3 separate regions of the Homo sapiens genome follow, and all the other regions are linked to region 1. Evidence: promoter capture Hi-C in human tissues and cell types (Jung and others, 2019). All regions are on one chromosome and are shown on one strand. The core of a region is centred on a gene start or on the middle of the fragment in contact, and the rest is flanking DNA. Distances in the headings are between cores, read along the strand shown. Region 1 holds the start of CSDC2 (cold shock domain containing C2). Region 2 overlaps ACO2 (aconitase 2). Region 3 overlaps DESI1 (desumoylating isopeptidase 1).

Region 1 (3,296 bases), core at 544-3,043:
GCTGTGGGGCAGAAGAGCTCCCTACTACTTTTAGCCTCCCATTTTGCTGCTCAGCATGGACAAAGGTCTGAACTGCCCCAAGCCCCATTCCTACAAGGCTCTGGGTCCTGGCTGCCCCAGTTGTGACCGTGGACATGACTGGCTCAGCCAGGTCCTGAGCGCCCTCTACCCCCTAGGGGGCTCTACTCCAGACTGGCTGGCAGGTGTCCCCTCCCCACCAGCCATCTGAGAGTGTCCCCAAGTCCCCCTCAGGGAATCCCCCTGCGCATCCGTGAACATTGCCTAGCCATGTCTCTCCAAGCCTGGGAGAGCCATCTGTGGCCAAAACTGTCCTCTGGCCTTTCCCAGGACACGGGCAGGCAGTTCCTGTCTATACCTGTCTTTTTTTTTTTTTTTGAAGGGGGTGAGGATGGGTCAAGATGGGCAGACACAGAAAACAGACATTTTTGGAGAAGACTTCAAGGAAATGGGGGGCGGCAGGGCAAAGCTGGGAGGAGGAAACATTCAGAATTTGGAGGGTCCAGAGGACTCTGGGATGGAGTCAGGTTTGGGAAACCAGTTCCCCATCCCCCAGAAAGCTGGAGACCCCCTTTCCCAGGGAGAGGCCCCTGCCGGATCACAGCCAGGCAGCATGATGCCAGGCTCTCAGAGAGGTTGCCCACCCCCCACTGGGCATACTTCCTCCTCTCCTACCCCAGCCCCAGTGGATGCAGCAGTTCACACTCTGTATTTATTATTGTTCTCGCTCTGTGTCCCCCTCCCCTCTCCCTGGGAAGAGCCTGCAGGCTGGCAGCTTGGCAGGAACCTGCTGTCTCCTTGTGGGTGCCAGCGTCGCCCCTTATCTCCGCCTGGACTCCTTGTGCCAGGGTCAGGCCATTCATGGGCTTGGCACCAGCCAAGGCCACCCTAAGTCCCTGTATCCCAAGATAGAGGCCTGGCAGGCCCTGACTTATCACCCCTGCCCTCCGGGGGCTGTGCCCTGGCAAGGGTGGAGGTCAGAGCAGACCAGCAGGCAGGCAAGAAGCAAGGGCTCGGGGTGGGGTGGTACCTGGGGGAAGAGAATAACCACACGGAGCCACCTCTCTAAGCCAACTAACACAATTATCCCCATCACACTGGGGAAAAAATAGAGTCAGGATAAGACAGCTGCTCCAGGTCCAACTGTCTGCCTTTCCCAGCCGGTCCCTTCCCAGCCCAACATTCCAGGGGAAGGACCAGCAAGGGTCCCTGCTGCACTCTGCTTTCAGCAACTGGAAGCGGCACTGGGGTTTCTCTGGTCAAGGCGGTCCTCTCTCCCGCTGCTTCCCAGACAGGAGGCTGCGGCTTGGCAGGTATCTGCTGCTCTCTGCCTCCTGAGCCAGACGCAGGTCCCAGACACAGACACAGACACAGACACAGACATGCTCCCACGGGAGCCACACGGCCTCACCTCATTTGGGGGTCACGGGGAGAGAATGAGGGAGGGAGAGACAGGTGGTATCCTCTATACCCCCAACACCCTATCTGTAAGCTGAACTGGGCTGATCCAGCCCCCACCTTCACGTTGTACCTCTCTCCTTCGGCCTGGCCAAAGCCACAGTTTCTGGCACAGTGTCCTCAGGCCCCATCTAGCCCCTCACCTCTCCTGGGCAGCTGGGGTCCAGGCACTGCCTCCTGCGGCGTCCGCGCTCTGTCTCTCTCTGGCTCGTGGAGCTGGCAGGCAGGGGATGGGTCTGGAAGATGTGTGTGTGTGTGTGTGTGTGTGTGTGTGTGTGTGTCTGTGTGTGCTCGCGCGGGCGGTACCTCAGCCCCTCACTCACTCACACGCCTTCCAGCTGACGTCAGGGAGAGCAGGAGGGAGGGATGAGAATTTGTACTCCCTGCTTAAAGGGACACCAGGCTCTGTGGCTCATGGCCCAGACATCACCTCCTGAGTCAGGCACTGCCAGGTGAGAGGCTCAGCTGCGTCTCTCGGGGGCCTTAAAGCTTCTTTTTTTGGAAAGTGGCTTTTATGGTCGGGCCACGGTATAATTTGCCCTGCCCAGTGAGGGCAGCTGCTGAGGAATGCAGGGGAGGAAGAACCTGAGACAGCGCCACGTTCCTGGTAATTAGAGAGCAAGTGGGGTGGTGAGTTTGAGTGTGAGTGTGTGAGTGCACACTGGGGGGCCCCTCGGGGTGGGTGGGCATGAGTGGGGGTGAGTCTGGGAGAATGGAGGTCAGAGCCAAGAGGAGCCCCCCAGAGGGGTCGAGACAAGCCAGGTTCCCAGGGACACCCAGACACTCGTCTCCCCTCCGGACGCTCAGTGGTCCTGCCCTCTGCTAGTACAGACACTGACACGGCTCATCTCTGTCTACCCCTTGTAATATTTCCATGGAATTGAATTGACGAGGACCCCAAGGAAGTGATCGGCTTGAAGGTGCACAGGTGAACACCCCACAGCCTGGGAGGCTCTGAGTAGAGAAGTAGAGAGGGCTGATTGAATTCAGGCACCCAGCCTGTTCTACACCACACGCCCTGGCTTCGAAGTGCTCCGCACTGTCAAGCTGTGTGACCTTGGGCCAGCCCCTGAGGGCCTTTGGAGGTTGAGTGTGTGATGTTCCTAAACCCAGGGCCAGCTGGAGGAGGCCTCCACAAAGGTGCTTCTCTTCGTTCTTCCCATTCCTTCTCAGCCTCAGCTTGGAAAGAAGGAAGCCTTTCCCTGGTGTCTCCTGGTACTACTGAGGCAGGCTGGCATTTTCAAAAGGAGTCTTTTTAAAATAAAAAGGAGGTGGGAGTTAAAAGGGAAACCGCAGAGAAAAATACAAGTAACTAATACAAATAGCTAAGACGCCACAAGAGCTTGCTCTGTTTCAGGCAGCAAGCTTTGCCCTCATTGAAACCTCACAACAATTTAATAATTTATTTTTATCATCCCTACTTTACCGGTGAGGAATTAGAGGCTCAGGGAGGAGGAAGGACTTGACTTGCCTATATTCTTCCAACTGGCTAGAGAGGTACTGGAACCCAGGAGCACCCAGTGTCACCACACGCCCCTGCCCTTCCAGAACCTCTCAGGACAATCAGGCTCAGACAGTCTGGGTTTCTGGTTCTGCAGGAGAGACTGTTGAGAAATGCTGCCTGTGGTTACCTGGGGATGTTCTGAATTATTATTATTTTTTTTAGAGAGTATTGCTGTGTCGCCCAGGCTGGAGGGCAGTGGCTTGATCTCAGCTCGCTGCAACCTCCGCTTCCCGGGTTCAAGCGATTCTCCTGCCTCAGCCTCCTGAGTAGCTGGGACTACAGACACACACCACCACACCCAGCTAATTTTTTTGTA
Region 2 (3,296 bases), core at 360-2,859, 56 kb after region 1:
GTGGTGGCTCACGCCTGTAATCCTAGCATTTTGGGAGACCAAAGCAGGAGGATCGCTTGAGGCCAGTTCAAGATCAGCCTGGACAACAGAGTGAGACCTTGTCTCTATAAAAAACAGAATGAGGCCGGGTGCGGTGGCTCATGCCTGTAATCTCAGCACTTTGGGAGGCCGAGACAGGCGGATCATGAGGTCAGGAGATGGAGACCATCCTGGCTAACATGGTGAAACACTGTCTCTACTAAAAATACAAAAAAATTAGCCAGGCGTGGTGGCGGGCGCCTGTAGTCCCAGCTACTCGGGAGGCTGAGGCAGGAGAATGGCGTGAACCCGGGAGGCGGAGCTTGCAGTGAGCTGAGATAGCGCCACTGCACTCCAGCCTGGGCAATAGAGCAAGACTCTATCTCAAAAAAAAAAAAAGAATGAGCCAGACAGGGTGATGCGTGCCTGTAGTCCCAACTACGCAGGAGGCTGAGGCGGGAGGATCACTTAAGCCCAGGAGATCAAGGCTGCAGTGAGCCCTGATCACATCACTGCACTCCAGCTTGAGCAACAGAGTGACATGCTGTCTCTAATAAAAACAAACAAACAAAAAAAAAACAAAAAAGCCCAAACCTGACCTATTACTGAAACCACTATTTAACAAGATAAGCAACTGCTCTCCTCAGCTCAGCCAGCCCATCTCTAAATACCAGGGCTTGCACTGGGATGAGATAACAGCTTCCACTTCTATAGCCTTTCATTTTTAAACAGCTTTAAACAGAGGTATAATTGGCATACAATAAACTGCATATTTAAGGTACACAATTTGCTAAGTTTTGACACTGTATACACCTGTGAAACCAGCACCACAATCAAGATACTGACCATCTCTCCTTCAAGTTTCCCCACCCCTTGGTTAACTCCCTCCCGCCCCTTTGCCACTACTGATTGGCTTTCTGTCACTAGAGACCAGCGTTATCGTAGCATTTACTTTCAGCTCAGCATTATCTTAAGTATTTTCATGTATAAAACTCATTTTATCCTCACAGCACAGATGAGGAAGCTGCAGCACAGAGGGACAGAGTAGCTTTGCTCCAGACCACGAAGCCAGTGAGGGGTACAGCTGGACCACGAAGAGGCAGCAGTGTGGCCCTACGGCTGTGCTCCTGACGCTAATCTACCCGGTCTCTCCACACCTGGAATCTGGAATAGGGCCAGCACATGGTGAATGTTCCATTTTCATTATTATTATTATTATTATTATTATTGTTATTATTTTGAGACAGGGTCTTGCTCTGTCACCCAGGCTGGAGTGTAGTGGCACAATTGTAGCTCACTGCAGCCTCAACCTTTCAGGCTCAAGCGATCCTCCCACCTCAGCCTCTGAGTAACTGGGATTATAGGCACGCACCACCACATTGGCTAATTTTATTTATTTATTTATTTTATTTTTGTAGAAATGGGTTTTCACTGTATTGACCAGGCTGGTCTTGAACTCCTAGGCTCACATGATCTTCCCGAAGAGCTGGGATTACAGGTGTGAGCCACCTCATCCTTTCTCAGTTATCATTACTGTTATCATCAATATGCATAGTGAGATGGCAGAGAAACTTCCTTCTGCAAGCTGGGTTCCAGTCCCTCACCCCCAAGTTTACCCAACCTCTTCAAAGTAAGAGTTCCCAGCTGGGTGTGGTGGCTCACGATTGTCATCCTAGCACTTTAGGAGGCCGAGGCAGACAGATCACTTGAGTCCAGGCGTTTTGAGACTAGCCTGGGCAACTCCACCTGTACAAAAAACATAAAAAGAAGCCAGGCATGGTGGCATGTGCCTATAGTCCCAGATACTGGGAAGGCTGAGGTGGGAGGATGGATTGACCCCAGAAGGTCAAGGCTGCAGTAAGCCATGATCGAACCACTGCACTCCAGCCTGGGTAACAGAGCAAGACCCTACCTCAAAAAAAAAAAAAAAAAAAAAAAAAAAAAAGTCCCTAAGGTGCTGGATCTGCTGGCAACAGCAGACCAACTGGCAACTCTGAGCATCTCTATGAATAAAAACAGCACTAGCCTGAGGTACAGCCTGCGCCGATTGCGGCAGCACCGCCAAGGCTGGTGTACGGGCAATGACTCACAGCCCCTCCTTCTGGGCCCCGAGGGAGACAAAAAATAGCACATGGGCTTAAAAACCCAAGACCTTGGAAGCAAATGATTGAAGCTATATAAAAAAGCTCAGCAATGCTGAAGCTTTAGGATGGGTTCATCATTGAATGTCCCTGAGGATTAACTGAGGATGACAAAATGGGTCTTCATATCCATCTGTCCCTCTGCTCTCCAGATGACACAGATCCAGTTCTCAAGAACAGACTTAGACCCCTTCTGTTGGAGACACAAGGTGGAAGAGAAGTCGCCCAGCAAGTCCCCTGGCCTTCTAAAAAATTCTTAGAATAGAACGCTTTATTTTTATTTTTTGAGCCAGAGTCTCTTCCTCTGTCACCAGAGACACCACTCTGGCTGGAGTGCTGTGGTGTGGTCTCAGCTCACTGCAACATCCACCTCCTGGGTTCAAGCGGCTCTCCTGCCTCAGCCTCCCGAGTGGCCGGGATTACAGGCGCTCGCCACCATGCCTGACTAATTTTTTTGTATTTTTAGTAGACACAGTGTTTCACCATGTTGGCCAGGCTGGTCTCAAACTCCTGGCCTTAAGTGATCCGCCTGCCTCGGCCTCCCAAAGTGCCGGGATTACAGGCGTGGGCTACCATACCCGGCTAGAATATAATTCTTTTTAGCATAACCTCACCTCTGCCCTCTTTCTCCGTGTCAGGGTTTCTCAGCCAGGGCACTATGAACCTATTTGGGCCGCAGAATTCTTTTGTTGTGGGGCTGCCCTGTGCGCTGTAGGATGCTTGGTAGTATTCCTGGTTACCCATTGGGTAACAGTAAGCCCCAACCCCAGCCAAGTTATGACAACCAAAAATATCTCTAGACATCACCAAATGGGCCCTAGGGACAAAACTGACCACCCCCCACCTTGTTGAGACCTGCTCTGTGGCAACAATGAAAACAGAGAACAGACCAGGTGTGGTGGCTCACACCTGTCACCTCAGCACTTTGGGAGACTGAGGCGGGTGGATCACAAGGTCAGGAGATTGAGACCATCCCGGCTAACATGGTGAAACCCCTTCTCTACTAAAAATACAAAAATTAGCTGGGCGTGGTGGCAGGCGCCTGTAATCCCAGCTACTCGGGAGGCTGAGGCAGGAGAATCACTTGAACTTGGGAGGCAGAGGTTGCAGTGAGCCGAGATCGTTCCACTGTACTCC
Region 3 (3,296 bases), core at 257-2,756, 55 kb before region 1:
GTTAAGGAATTTGCCCCAGGTCCCAGAGCTACTAGGTGGTAGAGCTGGGTTATGAACACAGGCAGTCTGACTTCCAGAGCTCGCGTTCTCTGTCATTTTGAGATACCACCTCTGTGTAATACGTTCCTTTAAAATTGAAGTAAAGTAGATGCCTTCCTGAAGTTTGTAAAGGCATCCTTTGCCAAATGTTTCAAGTTTGGATGAGAAAAAAAGCTGGGTTCAATGTGTATGTGCCACTTACAATCTAGATTTATGATCATGCCTCTTAGTCTCCATTTTCCCAAATTAAATCCATGTGATCTCATCTGCAGTACCCTCTCAGGCTTCAGTTATGTCAGTTCTCCAATGGGAGACCTCATCTAGCTCTGTCGCAGTTCAGGATTAGACTAGATAAAGCCCAAGGTAATTCCCCTTTCCTGAAGCAATGTAAATTCCGTAGTTTTAGCCTGTCCTGTTTTCAGCCTCCTGGAATTGCCTCAAGTGAAGGCATTACTGTTCTATAGCTTTTCATTCACTATGAAAAATGGTCCCAAAATTATCTTCAGCATTCTAATTGAGCAGATAGCCTCATTGCACCTTTTTTCATAGTCACCAATTGCCTAAAATAATTAGCTATTATAAGTGTCCTTCAGTTCCTCCTCTTAATAATTTTGGCTGCTCTTTAAGTTTCTTGACCTCTTTTTGTGCCACAGTACATGCAGAAGTGTGTGTGTGTGTGTGTGTGTGTGTGTGTGTGTGTGTGTGTTTTAATTGTGGTAAGAAGTACTTCATATTTGTTTATTATTTTCTGATCAGAAGTTTCGTGTACATGCATCACGTTTATTTTTCTTTACAAGCCCATTTCAAAACTGTTTTCAGACTTAAAGATTTGGAGACATAGAATATATAAATTGCTTGGCAGAATGAATTCTAATGAATATTAGAGATTTTACACTATACTCAATTCTTTACTTCATTTTGTAGTACAAATAGTAATGAAATAAAAGATATGACGTGAACTCTGTCCTCCAGGAATTTTTCTTTTTTTGAGGCAGAGTTTCACTCTTGTTGCCCAGGCTGGAGTGTAATGACACGATCTCGGCTCACTGCAACCTCCGCCTCCTGGGTTCAGGCAGTTCTCCTGCCTCAGCCTCCCAAGGAGCTGGGATTACAGACATGTGCCACCATGTCCAGCTAATTTTTCTATTTTTAATAGAGACTGGGTTCCACCATGTTGGTCAGGCTGGTCTCAAACTCCTGATCTCAGGCGATCCACCCACCTTAGCTTCCCAAAATGCTGAACAAACCCCCCTCCCAAAGTAAGGCATGAGTCACCATGCCCAGCCCAGGAGTTTTTCTTAAAATATTATTTTCCTTTAAATAATGAATGTACACATATAACATTTGATAACAATATAAAACAGATTATGATTAGGTGCCAAAGTGAGTGAGTGGTGCATGAACTATGTTAGGCTTTGAAATAAGAGAGGCCATGGTGAGCTGAGCATGTCAGAGAGGCTTTGGCAAGAGCCTGGAGCTCCTGGAGGGCAAGGACTCTGTCCCCTTCCTATATGTCCCCAGTGGCCTGTTGGAGCAGGTGTTCAGTAAGTATTGATTATAGAAATGATTGAGACTTGAACTTAAGCTTGAAGATTAAGTAAAATTTATTCAAATCTGAGAGAGGTTTTTTCTGTTTTAATGCCATCTATTGTGCTTTGTTTTTGATTTTTGTTCACTGTGTGAACTGTTTTATACTCATCTAATGAATTAATTTAATAATCATTCAATTTCTTTAAGGCAAAATGGAAAGGAATATGGCTTACAAGGCCCTGCGTGATTCTGCTTTTTTAAATTTTCTTTTTTTTTTTGAGACAGAGTCTTGTTGTGTGCCCAGGCTGGAGTGCAGTGGCGCGTGCCTCCCAGGTTCATGCCATTCTCCTGCCTCAGCCTGCTGAGTAGCTGGGATTACAGGCGCCCGCCACCGTGCCTGGCTAATTTTTTTTTTTTTTTTTTTTTTTTAATTTTTAGTAGAGACGGGGTTTCACCGTGTTAGCCGGGATGGTCTCGATCTCCTGACCTCGTGATCCTCCCGCCTCGGCCTCCCGAAGTGCTGGGATTACAGGCTTGAGCCACCGCGCCCGGCCTGTATTTTTTTTTAGAAGAGACGGGGTTTCACCATGTTAGCCAGGATGGACTTGATCTCCTGACCTCGTGATCCGCCCGCCTCAGCCTCCAAAAGTGCTGGGATTACAGGCGTGAGCCACTGCATGTGGCCTGACCAGTGGTTTTCAAATGCTCTTTAGCTGTGAAACTCTTCCTTGAAATGAAATCTTCTGCAGATATGCATGTGGAAAACAGGTGAAAAGGAACTTTTTTGTTAAAAAAAAAAAAAAGAAGAAGAAAACAAGGTGGGGTGAGGTGGCTTATGCCTGTAATCCCAGCACTCTGGGAGGCCAAGGCGGGTGGATCACCTGAGGTCAGGAGTTTAAGACCAGCCTGGCCAAGATAGTGAAACCCCATCTCTACTAAAAATACAAAAATTAACTGGGCACGGTGGCGCATGCCTGTAATCCCAGCTACTCGGGAAGCTGAGGCAGGAGAATCGCTTGAACTCGGAGGGCAGAGGTTGCAGTGAGCCGAGATCATGCCACTGCACTTCAGCCTGGGTGATAGAGTGAGACTCCATCTCAAAAAAAAAAAAGGATGTAGGCCGGGCACAGTAGCTCACACCTATAATCCCAGCTACTTGGGAGGCTGAGGCAGAAGAATCACTTGAACCCCGGAGACGGAGGTTGCAGTGAGCCGAGATCACGCCACTGCACTCCAGCCTGGGAAACAAAGTGAGACTCTGTCTCAAAAGGAAAAAAGAAAGGATGTAAATTCACTCAATTCATTTTTAATGTTATTGTTGGCTCCAAGTGTTTGGTGGATGAATGAATAAGTGAAAGAATGAACAGGCTGGGTGCAGTGGTTAACCCCTGTAATCCCTGCACTTTGGGAGACCGAGGCGGGTAGATCACAAGGTCAGGAGTTTGAGACCAGCCTGGCCAGCATGGAGAAACCCCGTCTCTACTAAAAATACAAAAAATTAGCCGGGCATGGTGGCGAGCTCCTGTAATCCCAGCTACTCGGGAGGCTGAGGCAGGAGAATTGCTTGAACCCGGGAGGCGGGGGTTGTAGTGAGCCATGATTGCACCGCTGCACCCCAGCCTGGACAACAGAGCGAGACTCCGTCTTAAAAAAAAAAAGAAAGAATGAATAAATAAGGGGATCTTTTTTCTATAGTCCCTATCTCCACTCTATGAATGGATGAGATC

Evidence for each region. The method cuts DNA at HindIII sites, captures the fragments that hold promoters and counts their contacts. A contact is called where the count stands out against the background at its distance.
Region 2: a fragment that was not itself captured here is called in contact with the fragment with the promoter of CSDC2 in region 1 in 3 of the 25 tissues and cell types used here (lymphoblastoid cells, pancreas and psoas muscle).
Region 3: a fragment that was not itself captured here is called in contact with the fragment with the promoter of CSDC2 in region 1 in 3 of the 25 tissues and cell types used here (IMR-90 fibroblasts, bladder and lymphoblastoid cells).

Annotation. Positions count from the first base shown.
Region 1 is chr22:41,559,507-41,562,802 of GRCh38, reverse strand. It overlaps CSDC2 (cold shock domain containing C2), which reads right to left and starts at 1,793. Exons shown (of 4, transcript NM_014460.4): 1 at 1,620-1,793. LOC105373044 (a long non-coding RNA gene) reads left to right here and starts at 1,920. Exons shown (of 2, transcript NR_134631.1): 1 at 1,920-2,083. The HindIII fragment of the contact is 6,219 bases long and covers 626-3,296 here.
Region 2 is chr22:41,503,379-41,506,674 of GRCh38, reverse strand. All of the region lies in intron 2 of ACO2 (aconitase 2), which reads right to left. Among named protein-coding and RNA genes, the nearest start is that of ACO2, 36 kb to the right of the region's middle. The HindIII fragment of the contact is 3,499 bases long and covers 1-3,296 here.
Region 3 is chr22:41,613,975-41,617,270 of GRCh38, reverse strand. The region is part of intron 1 of DESI1 (desumoylating isopeptidase 1); the gene reads left to right. Among named protein-coding and RNA genes, the nearest start is that of DESI1, 5.4 kb to the left of the region's middle. The HindIII fragment of the contact is 3,973 bases long and covers 1-3,296 here.